Regions from separate parts of the Homo sapiens genome. Here regions 1, 2 and 3 are each linked to region 4. Evidence: promoter capture Hi-C in 16 types of primary human blood cells and fetal thymus (Javierre and others, 2016). All regions are on one chromosome and are shown on one strand. The core of a region is centred on a gene start or on the middle of the fragment in contact, and the rest is flanking DNA. Distances in the headings are between cores, read along the strand shown.

What was found. Contacts are between HindIII fragments. The CHiCAGO score rates a contact against its expected background, and 5 or more counts as called.
Region 1: the fragment with the promoter of ZNF142 here is called in contact with the fragment with the promoter of SMARCAL1 in region 4 in 1 of 17 cell types (neutrophils); the score reaches 6.3 in neutrophils.
Region 2: the fragment with the promoter of TTLL4 here is called in contact with the fragment with the promoter of SMARCAL1 in region 4 in 1 of 17 cell types (neutrophils); the score reaches 7.5 in neutrophils.
Region 3: a contact is called between the fragment with the promoter of NHEJ1 here and the fragment with the promoter of SMARCAL1 in region 4, in 1 of 17 cell types (neutrophils). The highest score is 7.6, in neutrophils.

Annotation. Positions count from the first base shown.
Region 1 is chr2:218,657,385-218,660,872 of GRCh38, forward strand. ZNF142 (zinc finger protein 142) reads right to left here and starts at 2,239. Exons shown (of 11, transcript NM_001379659.1): 1 at 1,985-2,239; 2 at 1,596-1,746; 3 at 1,317-1,492. It overlaps BCS1L (BCS1 ubiquinol-cytochrome c reductase complex chaperone), which reads left to right and starts at 2,299. Exons shown (of 8, transcript NM_001079866.2): 1 at 2,299-2,359. RefSeq lists enhancers at 1,363-1,482, 2,293-2,422. The HindIII fragment of the contact is 10,571 bases long and covers 1,348-3,488 here.
Region 2 is chr2:218,708,365-218,712,105 of GRCh38, forward strand. TTLL4 (tubulin tyrosine ligase like 4) reads left to right here and starts at 2,471. Exons shown (of 20, transcript NM_014640.5): 1 at 2,471-2,673. It overlaps LOC124907983 (a long non-coding RNA gene), which reads right to left and starts at 3,120. Exons shown (of 2, transcript XR_007088089.1): 1 at 2,856-3,120; 2 at 1,238-1,722. RefSeq lists enhancers at 1-47, 2,273-2,372 and silencers at 2,753-2,802, 2,813-2,862. The HindIII fragment of the contact is 11,438 bases long and covers 1-3,741 here.
Region 3 is chr2:219,159,222-219,162,681 of GRCh38, forward strand. NHEJ1 (non-homologous end joining factor 1) reads right to left here and starts at 1,594. Exons shown (of 8, transcript NM_024782.3): 1 at 1,499-1,594. SLC23A3 (solute carrier family 23 member 3) reads right to left here. Exons shown (of 12, transcript NM_001144889.2): 11 at 3,078-3,173; 12 at 2,244-2,983. The coding sequence ends at 2,688. RefSeq lists a silencer at 1,259-1,378. The HindIII fragment of the contact is 12,472 bases long and covers 829-3,460 here.
Region 4 is chr2:216,411,231-216,414,961 of GRCh38, forward strand. It overlaps SMARCAL1 (SNF2 related chromatin remodeling annealing helicase 1), which reads left to right and starts at 1,254. Exons shown (of 18, transcript NM_014140.4): 1 at 1,254-1,418; 2 at 2,626-2,662; 3 at 3,417-3,731. The coding sequence starts at 3,475. It overlaps SMARCAL1-AS1 (SMARCAL1 antisense RNA 1), which reads right to left and starts at 1,270. Exons shown (of 5, transcript XR_001739881.1): 1 at 1,195-1,270. RefSeq lists enhancers at 1,016-1,310, 1,054-1,143, 1,274-1,363. The HindIII fragment of the contact is 8,553 bases long and covers 1-3,338 here.

The DNA.
Region 1 (3,488 bases), core at 989-3,488, 2.2 Mb after region 4:
TATCCTTGAAGAAGCTGCACAAATGTCACTTCCACCATGAAGGCCTCCTGACATTCTTTTTTTTGAGACAGTCTTAGTCTGTCACCTAGGCTGGAGGGCAGTGGCACGATCTCAGCTCACTACAACCTCTGCCTCCTGGGTTCAAGCGATTCTCCTGCCTCAGCCTCCTGAGTAGCTGGGATTACAGGCATGTACCACCACGCCTGGCTACTATTTTGTATTTTTAGTAGAGATGGGGTTTCTCCATGTTGGTTGGGCTGGTCTTGAACTCCAGAACTCAGGTGATCCACCTGCCTCGGCCTCCCAAAGTGCTGGGATTACAGGCGTGAGGCACCGCGCCGGGCCTGGCTTCCCGAAACTCTTATCTTCTCTCTTCTGGCGTCCTAAGGGCACTCTGTACACAGCCCTATCAGAAACGAGGTCACACTGCACTGTTGTTTACCTGTCAGTCTCTCTCCCTAGATGTATAGCTTTTTTAGTAATTTGTTGACATTATCACTTCAATGATATTACTTTGTGATACTGACATTATCACTTCAACGAACACAAATCACCCACAATCGAAGATTCCAGTGAAGAACCACAGATATGGAGCTGCATTGGAGTAAAGCTAGGTATCTTGTACAAAACCAGTGGTTCCTCACCTATAACGTAACACATTTGGAGAAATTTCAAACTCATTAACTGACTATGGCCTCAAACTAAATATGGGAACATAACTGAGGAATGAATGACAATTGAATTGCATACCCTGTTATACATGGCTAAAATGAGTTTAAGCTGAATAATTAGTAATTAATAAGAATGATGGGAATCACTTCATGAAATTGAGTCACAGACAAGATGCAAAAAGAAAAAAAGAAGAAGAAACCAGGCCGGGCGCGGTGGCTCAGGCCTGTAATCCCAGCACTTTGGGAGGCCAAGGCGGGCCGATCACCTGAGGTCAGAAGTTCGAGACCAGCCTGGCGAACATTGTGAAACCCTGTTTCTACTAAAAATACAAAAAATCAGCAGGGTGTGGTGGCACACGCCTGTAATCCCAGCTACTCGGGAGGCTGAGGCAGGAGAATCGCTGGAACCCGGGAGGCGGAGGTTGCAGTGAGCCGAGATCGCACCATTGCACCCCAGCTTGGGCAACAAGAGCGAAACTCCGTCTCAAAAAAAAAACAAACAAAAACCAAGATCCTGCAATCTGATAGTCCCTATTTCCAGAATCCCATGGACTCAAAACAACAGATCACAGGGATTCACAAGGTGGCTGGAAAGTGCACTCCCGTGGTCAGAGGGATTCTCTGGAAACTGCAGCCTCCACTTACTGAATATTATCGCTGTTCTGGGGAATCTTCAAGCTTGACCATACATGGCCTCCGGGGGGAGCCAAGGAGGACGCTGAGCCGTCAAGATTAAGAACCTTCACCTGCGGGAGGGCAGGGTGAGGTAGGAGACAGGTGGGCACCAGAGAAGAAATACGCTTATCTTCCGGGCAGGAGGGCTGAGGAAGAGAAAGGACAGACTAAGGCAGAGAGAAGGCCTGGAGAAACAACGGGCCCCGGCCTAGCGACCCAGGTTCCCACCTGCCTCTGGCTCTGACTCACCGCGTGGTCTTGGACAGACACAGTCGCTTCGCTTCTCTGGGCCTCAGCTTTCCTATCTGTAAAATGGAGGTGATGACAGTGTCCACATCGTCGGGCAGGAGCTGGATCATAAGAGCCAGCGAACTGGAAAGGCGGTTTGTAACCTGGAAGGCTTGGGATGGAGCATCGTCATGATTTTGTCCTGAGAGCAGCAGGTACCCGGGCGGGGTCCAGAACCGTGACGCGACTGCAGCGCCGGGGCCCAGCTCGTCTGGGTGCTCCCTTCAGTACCTCCTTCCGAGAGTTCCCAGCGCCCAGGCCCACCCTGATCCCGGGGCTCGAAAAACTTTGCCTCCAGCTCGCTCCACCCGCATTCCCTTCCCAGTTCCGCCCCGCAGCCGCTCACTCACCTCCAGACCCAGAGCCGGCGGGAGCCGCATCTCTATGGTCGGCCGCGGCTGGAACGGCCCCCGGGGCCCGCTTTGTGCGACCGCCTCCGGCTCAGCCGCCTCTAGGATATTGGGGATGTGGAAGCCACTCTCTCTTCCTCTTGCCGGCTGCCGGGGTACTCTATGTTTTGTCTCTGTGGTTTTTCCCGCCCTCCACCCCCACTCCAGCCCTGAAGCCGGAGAAGCACCATCGAGAGCTCTGGGGTAGAGTGGCGTGGGCTTCTCTGTGGGTGTGGCGGGAAGTAGATGAAAGGACCCGGGGCGGGGCCGAACGCAGCTTCCCCAAGGTGCAGGCGCGGTGAAACCATCGAGACGGAGGGCCAGAGAGTCACGGCGGTGAGAGGGCTGAGTGACGGGTTACCCCAAACCATGTGGCTGGAGGCGCGAGCTGGGGTGTGGGCGAGGTTCAGGAGGGGGTTCCTGGGTGTCGCGGAGGGGCCGGGGACGGGAGAGCTTTGTCTGTGGCCTTCCATGCATAGGTGTTTTGGAATTCTGGATCCCAGTTCTGAGGCTCAGCCGAGGTCACTGCTGTCAGCTCACCTCCCTGCATGCCAGGCGCAGGGCAAAGTGGCCGGGGTTCGGGGTTGGAGGAGAGGTGTACTAGAAACAACTTTGCTCTTGTCCCTCAGGATCTTATTGTCTACGATGTGACGATCCGTGGAGAAAGTAGCAGATGGGCAGATTTTCATTTGGGGAGAATGAGGGAGAAAAGAACGGGCATTCCGAGCCAAGAGCACTGCATGAGCAAGGAGTTGGGAGGTTGCTTACTTGTTGAACATATTTGTTGCGTATTTGCATATTTGCTAAACAGGTAGTGTTAGGAGCTAATCCATGAAAGGTAGGTGGGCGCCGTATTGTAGAGAGCCTTGAGTACCAGGCTGAGTTTATACCCAATTCAGGGGTCTGCTGGGAGCCAGCCATTGAAGGTGCTGGAGCAGAGAGAGATATGGTATTGGAGCTGATCCCTATGATGAAAGATCTGGACCCTTGTGTAGATGTTCCGTGAAGCAGGAGGTGAAGACCTATTAAAATGCCATTTCAAGAACTACGATTTTAAAGACAGTTTAGGTGGGAGGTAATAAAGGTCTAAACAAGACGTTAAATATTGGGGACGTAAGGGGGAGGATATTTGAAGGACATTACTCATAACAAGACATAGGGTTACTGACAAGTCAACGGACGCTTCTCCCTTGCTGACTGCAGCCAATGGACCCCTTTTTATCATAGCTGGTCCCAGGGACCACAAAAATCCTGTCCATCCATTACCCTGATGTGAAGCCTGTTTATATAGCTCTTTTTGGTTTAAGGCATCTCCAGACATGGTCCTCTGGTAGGAAACAGGTATGAGTAGACTAATGAAGGACAAAATGGGATGAGGGACCTGGAGCCTCCACCCTTGCATTCCAATACCACCCTTACCCCACAAAAGGAGGGTATTGACCCACACAGTAATGCTGACCTGTGG
Region 2 (3,741 bases), core at 1,221-3,720, 2.3 Mb after region 4:
TGTGCCTGTGGTCTCAGCTACTTGGGAGGCTCAAGTGGAGGACTGCTTCAGCCCAGGAGTTTGAGGCTGCAGTGAGCTGTGTTCATGCCACTGCACTCCAGCCTATGTGACATAGTGAGATCCCTTCTCAAAAAAAAAAAAAAAAAAAAAGAAAAGAAAAGAAAAGGAAAGTGCAAAGAGTAGGGAGTCTGGTTCTGGCCTCTAAAACCAATGAAGGATTAATCATCCCTTTCTTGATTTCTAGAGCTGGTTTCTGCTTACTCCTTAGGAAAGAATTCTGTTTAAAGGTTAATAAGGAAGGGGCATATTGAGGTGTGTTGGACTTCCCATCTCATCATAGCCAGGAATTCAGTTTTTTTTTTCTTTCTTTTTTTTTTTTTTCAAAGAGTCTTGCTTTGTTGCCCAGGCTGGAGTGCAGTGGTGCGATCTTGGCTCACTGCAAGCTCTGCCTCCCGGGTTCACGCCATTCTCCTGCCTCAGCCTCCCTAGTAGCTGGGACTACAGGCGCCCGTCACCACGCCTAGCTAATTTTTTGTATTTTTAGTACAGGTGGGGTTTCACCGTGTTAGCCAGGATGGTCTCGATCTCCTGACCTCGTGATCCGCCCGCCTTGGCCTCTCAAAGTGCTGGGATTACAGGCGTAAGCCACTGCGCCCGGCCGGGAACTCAGTTTTTAAGGTTGCTCTAGTGTCCCCTTAGCCACGATGGGGTCCATTAAGTTGGTTGGGGTGGTACTTAAAATTTTTATTTCTCAGTCTCAAAAATGTCATTTTACAGTTTGTTTGAATCAGGATCCAAACAAGCTGCACTCATTGCATTTGAATATATTTCTTTTTTTTTTCTCAAGAGGGAGTCTTGCTCTGTTGCCCAGGGTGGAATGCAGTGGCACAATCTTGGCTCACTGCAACTTCTGTCTCCTGGGTTCAAGCGATTCTCCTGTCTCAGCCTCCTGAGTAGCTGGGGGCTACAGGTGTGCACCACCATGCCTGGCTAATTTTTGTATTTTTTGTTGGAGACGGGGTTTCACCATGTTGCCCAGGCTGGTCTTGAACTCCTGACCTCAAGTGATCCTCAGAGTGTTGGGATTACAAGTGTGAGCCACTGTACCTGGCCAACATTTGAATATATTTCTTAAATCTCTTATAATCTAAAACATCTCTCCTCATTTTTATACCCTAAAATTGTTGAAGGAAGAAGAGGTCATTTATTCTGTACATTGGCTCACATTCTGGATTTGTTTGATTGCTTTCTTGTAGTGTTATACAGTTGTTTCTCTTTATTTCTTGTTAACTGGAAATTACAGCCAAAACTTGATTAGAGTCACTCAACTTTTTTTTTTACAAAAATACGCTATACTTCATAAATATTTCTGTTCAATTGCATCACATCAAGAAACAATGCTCAGCTGTCCCATGTTTCGTGATCTAAGATTGATTAGTACATGTAGGTTATCTTCAGTGTACATCCTTCAGTGTAAAATTCTCCCATAAATTATCTAATACTTTTAGCATCCATCAACGACTGTTGACTAAATAAGTTATTTATTGAGATCCTTCCTCTGGTCCAGACTGTTTTCATCAGATTAGTTTTATCTTTGTCCCCTTTATTTCTGTAGCCAATTGCCTAGGAAAGATCCTTTCATCTTCCAGCTTTCTTAGATCTCCAAATCTCTCAGGTCTACGGACATCTGAGGCAGGAGCGCGATCTGGCTTGCCTGGGGAGCTAACGAGATAAGGAATTGAGTCAGTATTTCCTAACGTTCACACTTGAAGCCCATAAAGCAGGCAGGTGGTTTTAATTTTGCCCCGCTGGGTGGGTTGGGGTTAGGGAAGGATGGGTTAGAGGGAGGCAGAGTGAATCGGGCAATCTCCCCTTTCCTGCGGTCAAACTCAAAGGCTTTTTCTAGAAATCCTTCAACTGAGCCTGGGCCCTTTGATTTTCAATTGAGGCAAGGCCAAAGAGTCCAGGCCAGGCGTGGGGGCTCCCGTTGTAATCCCAGCGACCAGGAGGCTGATGCAGGAGGATCACTTGAGGCCAAGAGTTTAAGACCAGTCTGGGTAACATAGTGAGACCCTGTCCTGAGAAAAAAAATTTAAAAATAGCCCAGCATGGTGGCGTGCCTGTAGTCCCAGCTACTCGGAAGGCTGGGGGCGGGCGGATCGCTTGAGCAGGAGTTCAAGTTCGCAGTGAGCTATGATCACGTCGCTGCACTCCAGCCTGGGCGACAGAGCGAGATTCTGTCTCTAAAAAAGAAAACAGTCCATAGGGAGTAGGTGGAATTAGAGTAGAAAGAGAGAGTCCTGGATGCTCCGAATGGAGCCTTTCAGAGCTTTAACCACGGGACTACATCTCCCAGAATTCCGCTCGCCGGATCCCACCGCACTGAAGGGACTGCGCGTGCGCGAGTCAGGTGACGACCCGCCCCTACAGGCCCCAGAACCCCCGAGATTCCCCGCGCTTGCCTCCCGCCCTCTTCTTCCAGACTCTCGGTCTGTCCGCTGGGGGCGCGCGCGGTGTGTGGCAGGCGGCAGCGGCGCTGGCGGCCGAGTGCGCTTGTCACGCGTGGCGGTGCGTGGTTGCTAGGGGCGCCTGAGGCTGCCGGGTAGCCCAGCAGGCCGAGGGAGGAAGTAGCGTGGAGCCGGTGCCGAGCCGGGGCGAAGCTGGATCCCCTAGGTGAGTGCGGCTGCGGAGCCAGGGGAGCCGACCCCAGACACTCCGCCGGTCCCACGCTCCCGACCTCCCTCTACCTGAGTCCTTTCGCGCGGGTCCCCAGCCCTCCGGCCACTCTCACCCTAGCCCCGCTTCCTCCCGCCACCTCTCATCCCCCGGGAGGCCAGGGAGCCGCGGCCTCCTACCCGGCCGGGACTTCGCGCCTCCTCGGAGCCCTTCTCCTCTCCGCCACGCCCCGCGAACTTAGTCGGCCTCGCCTCCGGGTGCCCGAACACTGCCTCATCCCCTAGTTATGGCCTCCGAGCTTCCTCTGTCCTGCCGCGCTGAGGTTTAAATTCCCTCTGGGTGTGAGCCCAAGCTCCTCGCAGGCTCCAGGGCCGAATTTAACATGGATATCTGCTTTTTCACTTCTCCATCCTCAGTATCTGTAGAAGAATACGTTCCTAAACTCCACAGATTCAAACAGGATCTGAGATCCTGTGGAATTTAATTCTTCATTCATCAATTCCTTTATTTAATCATTCACTAAACAATTTTTAGTAAACATTGACAAATATTTAATGAGCCTGGGTACAATGGGAGGGATTGAGGGGATAGAGTGGCTAATAGGACAAGCATGTTTTCACGGAATTTACAGTCTAGGAGATTATTAATCAAGTAAACGAGCATTTGCCATACTGTGGTGTGTGCTGTGATAGAACAGGAAATACTTAATCCGGACTTACTTAGAAAACGACATTATTGCCATTCCTCCTGGTCTTCACATTCCCATTCTGGATCTCGGAAATATTTTAATCCTTCCTTGATGAAATCTTCTTTGCTTTCTCAGATACTACAAATCACCTATTCTTTAACTGCAGCACCTGTTGATTTAGCATTTGGGGGACCCTTTGGGACAGTGTTCCATCCCATCCTTCTGTTTCTTGCACTGAATACTGAGACACTGTTTGCATTTAAACCACCCACTTTGTGCTCAGAAAGTTAGCAGCTACTTATATTGGACTGAATCAATCCTTGAAAAATTATCAAGTGTTTTCTGCGAATAGAGAGGTGGGAGGACATTCCAGATAC
Region 3 (3,460 bases), core at 344-2,843, 2.7 Mb after region 4:
GCCTGGAACCCCTGCAAAACAACTTTTCTATCTCAGCAGCTAAAGTAGTAGGCTTAACCTAGTAGACAATCAGAACTACGGCTGCTTGACAGAGAATGTGATTGTTTTTCCTGTGGGGGAGAAAAAAATATGTCAATTTCCTTCATTATTCCAGTCTACAAATATAAAATGAACAGAAGTACCAGGAAGGAAAAATTTAGAATGTAAATAATGAAATTCCTTATTAAGTCTGATTAACACAGTCATTTCCCCTAGCTTTTGAAGTGTGCCCTTGTGACTTGTGACATAACTTTATATATATATGCATATATATATGCATATATATATATGCATATATATATGCATATATATATGCATATATATATGCATATATATATATGCATATATATACATATACGTGGTGATCTTTCTTTATGGCATCCTCAAAGCCTTGTGTTTGGAGGATGGTGTTTCCGTCACATTTCCCACATGCTGCTCTTATGGGGACAGAAGTGGTCATGGGATGATTAAGCTAGTCCTAGCCGGACAAGAGCTCCACAATGCCAAAGGTCACAAACGCGAATAAAGTCGCCACTTTCATCTCCCTTATAGGCACTCCCCAGTGTACTCTTAACAGTTGCCAAAATTGGGTTTACTATTCTAGCCCATTCCTTCGGAAAGCCCGGAAGCTCAGAACCCTCAAATTGATGGGTTTTGTTTGTCTGTTGGGTAAAGGGGGAGGAGTTTAAAATGTGGCCAGGAGTAACGGGCCCTATAAAAAGGCCTGACACATTGGGCACCAGACCCCGGCTGCCTGCTCCCACCACACGCGTCCCGTTCTGCGTCCGAAGCTTCTACACTTCATCCTTTTCTTTTTTCCTTCAAGGCTGCCTCTAACATTCACATTAACGAGATTCACGGGTTTATTTCTCTTGAGTGGAGGGGCGCTGAGCGGCATCCCGGCGGAGGGGTCCCTTGAGAACCTTTATCTGCACCGAGTCCGCTCCTCAGCAGTGACCCCTCTGGGCAGTTCCTCCGACGCCCTGCAGAGGGCAGTAGAGGCCCAGAGAGCATCCCGGCTGGGCCCCGCCCGGTCCCCCTGGGACAGCGCGAACCCTAGGTCCCACCACAACCATAGCCCCACCCCAGGAGCCGCCAGGCGTCCCGCTTCCACCCGCCCCAGCTATAACAGCCTTCGCTGTCCGCCTTCCCATTTCTACAGCACTGGCTGCACTGGGGCGCGGCTTCAAGGGGCAACAAAGCCGGCCACCAGCGGCTTCGTCGCACCAAACAGGCGACCAACGAGTACCTTCACTCGAGCCCTACCATCCACGCCGGGCAGCAGCCAGCGGACTGCGCACGCGCGGCCCCGCCCACCCCTCCCCCGGAGGCCTGCCCTGGACCCCGGCAGCGCGCGCTCCCTCCAGGGAGAAAAGGCCAGCGCCAGGGCCAACCCGCAGCGTCTGAGCAGCCCCTCGCTGGCTTGCTCCTGCCCGGACTCGAACGCGATTCCACCTACCGTCAGCGGCCGCGAGAGCGCCCACTCTCTTAGCCGCACGCACGCTTTCCTGCCCGCTCGCGCAAACCGAAAGGCCTAGAGTAAGAGGCCGCTTTCCCCCCACCGCAAGAGGAGGCAGGGTCTTGGGATACAGGGGCGGGGCCTATGCCTGGCGTGGGCGGGGCTTCTGGGCCTGGGACACTGATGAGAGGAGCGCCCCAGTGGCCAGGGTAAGTGGAGGAGAGGCCGGGCAGCCGGCTAGTAGAAGGGTAGTGGCGCGTCTTGGAGTCACGCTGGCCGAGTGGAAAGAATAGCGGGCGAGGCGCAGGAGAGGGGAGCCCAGGTTTGGATTTGTCAAACTTGAGTCACTTCTCTTCCCTCCCCTACCTATCCGGTCTCTTTTTAACAAAATAAGGGATTGAACTTCTGTAGATGATCTCTCAGGTCCTCCACCAGCACTAGAGTTGTTGAAGGAAGGAGTCTCCCAGGCATAAGTCCCATAGTCCGACCTCATCCTTTACCTCTCCTGCTTCATTTCTCCATCATCCCCGTACTTATACTCCCTCACTACTGAGAAATTTGAAACCCCTCACCTATCTTGGACTTTGTACAACCCATGGCTTTGCTCAAGCTGGACCCCGAACCTGAAAACTTCTCTGCATCCATTTTCCAAAACCAAAAATCCTCATTTGTCAAGGCCATCCTCATTGCTTCTTGCATAAAGCCTTTCCCACTGTCCCCAATCAGAATTCATTATCCCTTCCTCTTTGCTCCCACGGCATTATTTTAATCTTTATTACAGACTGCTTTCTGCTTTGCATTTTCGTTAGTAATTACAAAGGTCTTTTTAAACCGTAAATGCCTTGAGACGGCATGGACCCTGTCTTATCCCTGTAGTTCCAGGACCTTGCACATGGGAGATGCTCAGTAAGTATTAAAGTGAATGCTGGGGTTCAAGTGGCATTGATAGTACACAGGCAAAATCTCAATCATTCATGGTCCACTAAATCATGGCCTCTGCTCTGGAACAGTTAGGCCTAATTAAGACAAGGAAAGGCAACCCACCCTATTGGGAAATGGAACCTCTAGACAGTCCCATGTAATACACACACACATATCCTCTGCCTACAAGAAAGAACAGTTTGGGAGCTGACTCTCCAGCAGATGAGAGTTAGGGCTAAATTAACCAGGGCAGAAGTAGGCGTTCTGGTCATTTCTGGGACCTAAACCCTTCTCTGCTAGATTCAGGGCATGGCTCCCCTGAGCCAGGCAGCAAGTCTGCCATCTCTTCTGGCTCAGAGGAGCCTCCTTCCTCATCCCCAGGGTCTTCAGGCAGTGGGCAGAGGCAGTGGAGAGGCTGGGGGATGCAGGGACAGAGGTTTTGGATGGGGAAAGGAAGTCTGTACACTTGAGCAGCCTTCTCCCTGGGCTTCTGAGGCATTCGAGCCTCTTGGGCAGTGAAAGGAGATGGTAGCCCTTGACCTAGGCCTCGCTCAAGCTGTGTGCCTGCAAAAGAGAGGTTTGTCAGGCTATTGCCCATCCCAGGGAGGGATGGCTTCCTGGCCACTCCCCAGTCTGCTAGGGCCTAGCCTCAACTTACCAGGAATCGTGTTCTCTAGTAGGAAGCCTGAGAGTCCAGCCAGGAAGATGGGCTGTGTCAGCAGTGAGTGCAGTAATACATCCAAGGGGCTCCAGCCTATGAAGAGTTGGGGCCAGGCAGGAAGGGAACTCTGATCCTATATCCAAGCCCAGGAGTCTTACCCTCCCAGACCTAAACCTAAGCCTTGGACTAAGGACAGATCTTTCTGAATTGTCATTTCATCCCTCTCACCCTTTGTCTTTCTACTCTCCACTTTCCAAATCCAGGCCTTTCCCACAGGATTCCTGCTCAACACCCTGTGTTCTGATCATCCACACACCCTCCATATATGCTTTGACTATTCCAGGTTCCCTTTCTCTAGAAAGCGTAATATTTAAGTCCCA
Region 4 (3,731 bases), core at 4-2,503:
TAAAATTACTAAAATCAGCCAGGCATGGCGGCATGCACCCATAATCCCAGCTATTTGGGAGGCTGAGGCAGGAGAATCATTTGAACCCAGGAGTCAGAGGCTGAAGTGAGCCAAGATTACACCACCACACTCAGTCTAGGCAACAGAGTGAGACTCTGTCTCAAAAAAAAAAAAAAAAAAAAAAAAAAAAAAAAAAAGGAAGGAAGGAAGAAGGGAGATTATTTATTGTTTCAAAAGTCACACAAATTCTACATTATTATTTTAGAAAATTCAAATCATTCTGAAAAATAGAGATTAAAAAGCTGAAAAGTGTATTTCATGCCACTCTGCTCCTGAACAGTTTGGTGACTTTTTAAGTTTCCTTCCCAGACCTTTATGAGTTTACATACATGTACAGGTAAGGATGAAAAAAAAAAAAATCAAACTACACACATTGCTGTGCTTCCTTTTTCTTAGCATGTCTGGTCCATTTTTTCAAATCCTTTAGTAGACTTGTTTGTTTTTAAATGAGCCATGTTTGAAAATAGAACAATAGCAACATTCATATGCACACTGATAGAGAAATGTTATATTTATCACCAATGGTGCTCAGGATGGCTCAGGATGTTGGTGCTCAGGATGGGGTAAAGTGACTCTTTAAGTCTCATGACTAATCTTCTCTCAAGAGGAGGGGCTATGGAATCAGAATCACAAGCTAGCTTAATAAAGCCTTGAGAAATATTATCAAATAGCTGTCTTAGTTTCCCCCTCTGTAAAAGGGGGACAAGAATGTGTTCCATAGGTTGTAGTGCGGTTAAATGAGGTAACTCATATTTATGCTAAACACAATGACTGATGACTACAATGATGACGATGATGGCAGCCGGGCGCAGCGGGTGGGGCTTAAATGGCAAGTATAGCAATACCAGGAATGGATGCCCCGGGGAGATACTTTTTATTAAGAGCTGCCAAGTTAGTATGGCTGTCTGGGATGTCCTCTGGAGACAGCCGACTCCGGGTTTGGAAACCTCAACGTCCTAGGCTTTCAGGACCTAGTGTTTGGCTAAACCTCTGGAGAACTACAACTTCCAGGGTGCACCACTTTCGCCCCGCCCATGACGTTGCAGCTCCCGTTTCTCGCCAGGCTCCCGGCCCGAACTACAAATCCCAGAAGACACTGCAGCCCCGCTCGCGTTCTCGTCTCATCATTCTTACTTTTGGAAGCGAAACTGCGGCCGCGTTGCCTGCTGGGAAATGTAGTTCAGCGGTGGCCTAGCCCTTCAGGCCTGGCCGCTACAATAAGGCTGGCGAACTCGCAGCGCTTGAATACCCGTGGCCTAACCGTCCACTCGGAAGACCGGTCCCGCTCGGGAGGCTCTGCAGTCGCGCCTGGGGTCAGGGCCGGGGGCGAATGTGGCTCGCGTTCTAGGCCTCCCTGGGTGAGAAAGTGGTAGACTGGCAGGAAGGCGGCGGAGGCGGACGAGACCAATGCCAGCCTGGAGGAGGAAGTGGGCCAATGGGAAGGGTGAATCCAAGTGGAGATCGTAGGGGTGGGAGTGGGGCGTGGCGCCCGCTTACCTTGAGGCTGGGTGAGGCTCGCCCCGAAATGCGGGGCGTGGGGGGCGGGGGGCAGAGGTCCCTGCCTAGAGGGGAAGAGGGGCGTCCATGTGGCGGAATGGATTTATGGTTTGGGGCTGATCAGTGGGTCTTATGGCCGAGTCTCTCTGGTTAGTGGAGACAGCTTACCAGGCCTGGGATCTGGGGAGTTTGGAGGTGCAGGAGATCCCTGGTTGGAAACTTAGGCAGGAGTGTGTTACCCAGAGAGACTGAGGGCTTCTGCTGTGCACCTCCAAAACCTTTTCCTAACCTCTTCACCCCTTCCTAACTGCTAATGGTTGGAGAAGGTGGAAGTTCTCTGGGGATAGATACTTCGTGGTGGGGGAGGGGGGAGGGGGGTTGGGTTCTGGCCAAAGGGAGCCCCAGCAGGGAAGGAAGGCTTTGAACCCTATAGCTGCCCAGAGGCCTAAGCAATGCTACTGGAGTACCCCTACATCATCATTGTAACCGTTACACAGCATTACATTAGATGCAGCCTATTTAGTCTGAACCAAGCCAGACAAATTGGTGTGTCCTGCCCGCTGCTTCTAAAATATTGTAAACATGTCTCAGCTCATAGGAAAATAAATGTTCCGGGTAAATTCATGGAAAAAAATAATCAGGGTGCAATATGGAATGTTTACAATGATCCTACTTTATAATAAATTCTTATATCTCCTAAATATGTGCCATTTTGTTATGGATGAAAAAAAATCCGAACTATATACTCTAAATTATTAATTTCAACTGTGGTTATTGATGGCTGGTAAGATTACAGAGTAATTTTATTCTTTTTTGTTTACATCTTTATGTAGCATCTTAATTTGCACAGTGAACACATAATTTTTTTTTTTCTGCTCCTTATTTTCCCAGGAGAGTCAGTCAGTTGCTCCGTGTGTTGTGTTGGAAGTCAGGTCCTAAGGCCAGCTGCTCTGGCTTGCACTGAGCCACAGGCAGACTGATTTGCCAGGAATGATAAAAAGGGGTGAATGTGAGGGGAGAATTCAGTGTGCAGGCTATGGGAGGCTAATGCTTTTTTCCTTCTTCTAGGTTGGAAAAAGACTATGTTAGCAAGTGTCACGCCATGGTATGTGGTTGGTTGGTCTATTTCAGTCTAATCTATTATGCTTTCTGGTTAAAAATGTCACCTTTCTCATTATCTGATGGATTTACGTTGCAATGCATAACTTTCTTAGGTTCTGATAACTCACCTTGGCTGGGCCATGTGAGTTATCAGAAGAGTTACTCACCATTTTGGCAGTGCTTCGAACCATTGAGTTACCATGTGAGTTACCATGTGAGAAGGAGAGAAATATTGCCTCTGAAATGCCTTTTTAGCTTTGGATTTGCTTTTTGCTTTTTTTTTTTTCTTTGAGAGTTTTGTTCTTGTTGCCCAGGCTGGAGTGCGGTGGCACGATCTTGGCTTACTGCAACCTCTGCCTCCCAGGTTCAAGCAATTCTCCTGCCTCAGCCTCCCAAGTAGCTGGGATTACAGGCGTGCACCACCACGCCTGGCTAATTTTGTATTTTTAGTAGAGATGGGGTTTCACCATGTTGGCCAGGCTGGTCTCAAACTCCTGACCTCAAGTGATCCACCTGCCTCAGCTTCCCAAAGTGCTGGGATTACACCCGACCTGCTTTTTGCTTTTTGATCAGGGTCTTTATTTCAGCATATGCTGCCTACTATTTCAGTGTGTGTGCAATTATAAAAGAAACTTTAATACATCCTTTAGTTGTGCTCATTATGCATTTTCTGGGACAAAAGCTTGTTAAAATCATGGTTGGAGTATGACAATTAATACATGTAATGTTCATTTCATTCTTCTTACTTTCTTCCACAGCTTTTGCCAACTTTCCAATTAAAGGTTGACATTCCTGCATAAGCATTTCTCTGTGAAAATGTCCTTGCCTCTTACAGAGGAGCAGAGGAAAAAGATTGAAGAGAATCGACAAAAGGCTCTGGCCCGCAGAGCTGAGAAGTTATTGGCAGAACAGCATCAGAGGACTAGCTCGGGCACCTCCATTGCTGGCAACCCATTCCAGGCCAAGCAAGGCCCATCCCAAAATTTCCCAAGGGAGTCTTGTAAGCCAGTGAGCCATGGTGTCATTTTCAAGCAACAGAATCTCAGTAGCTCATCTAATGCTGACCAAAGACC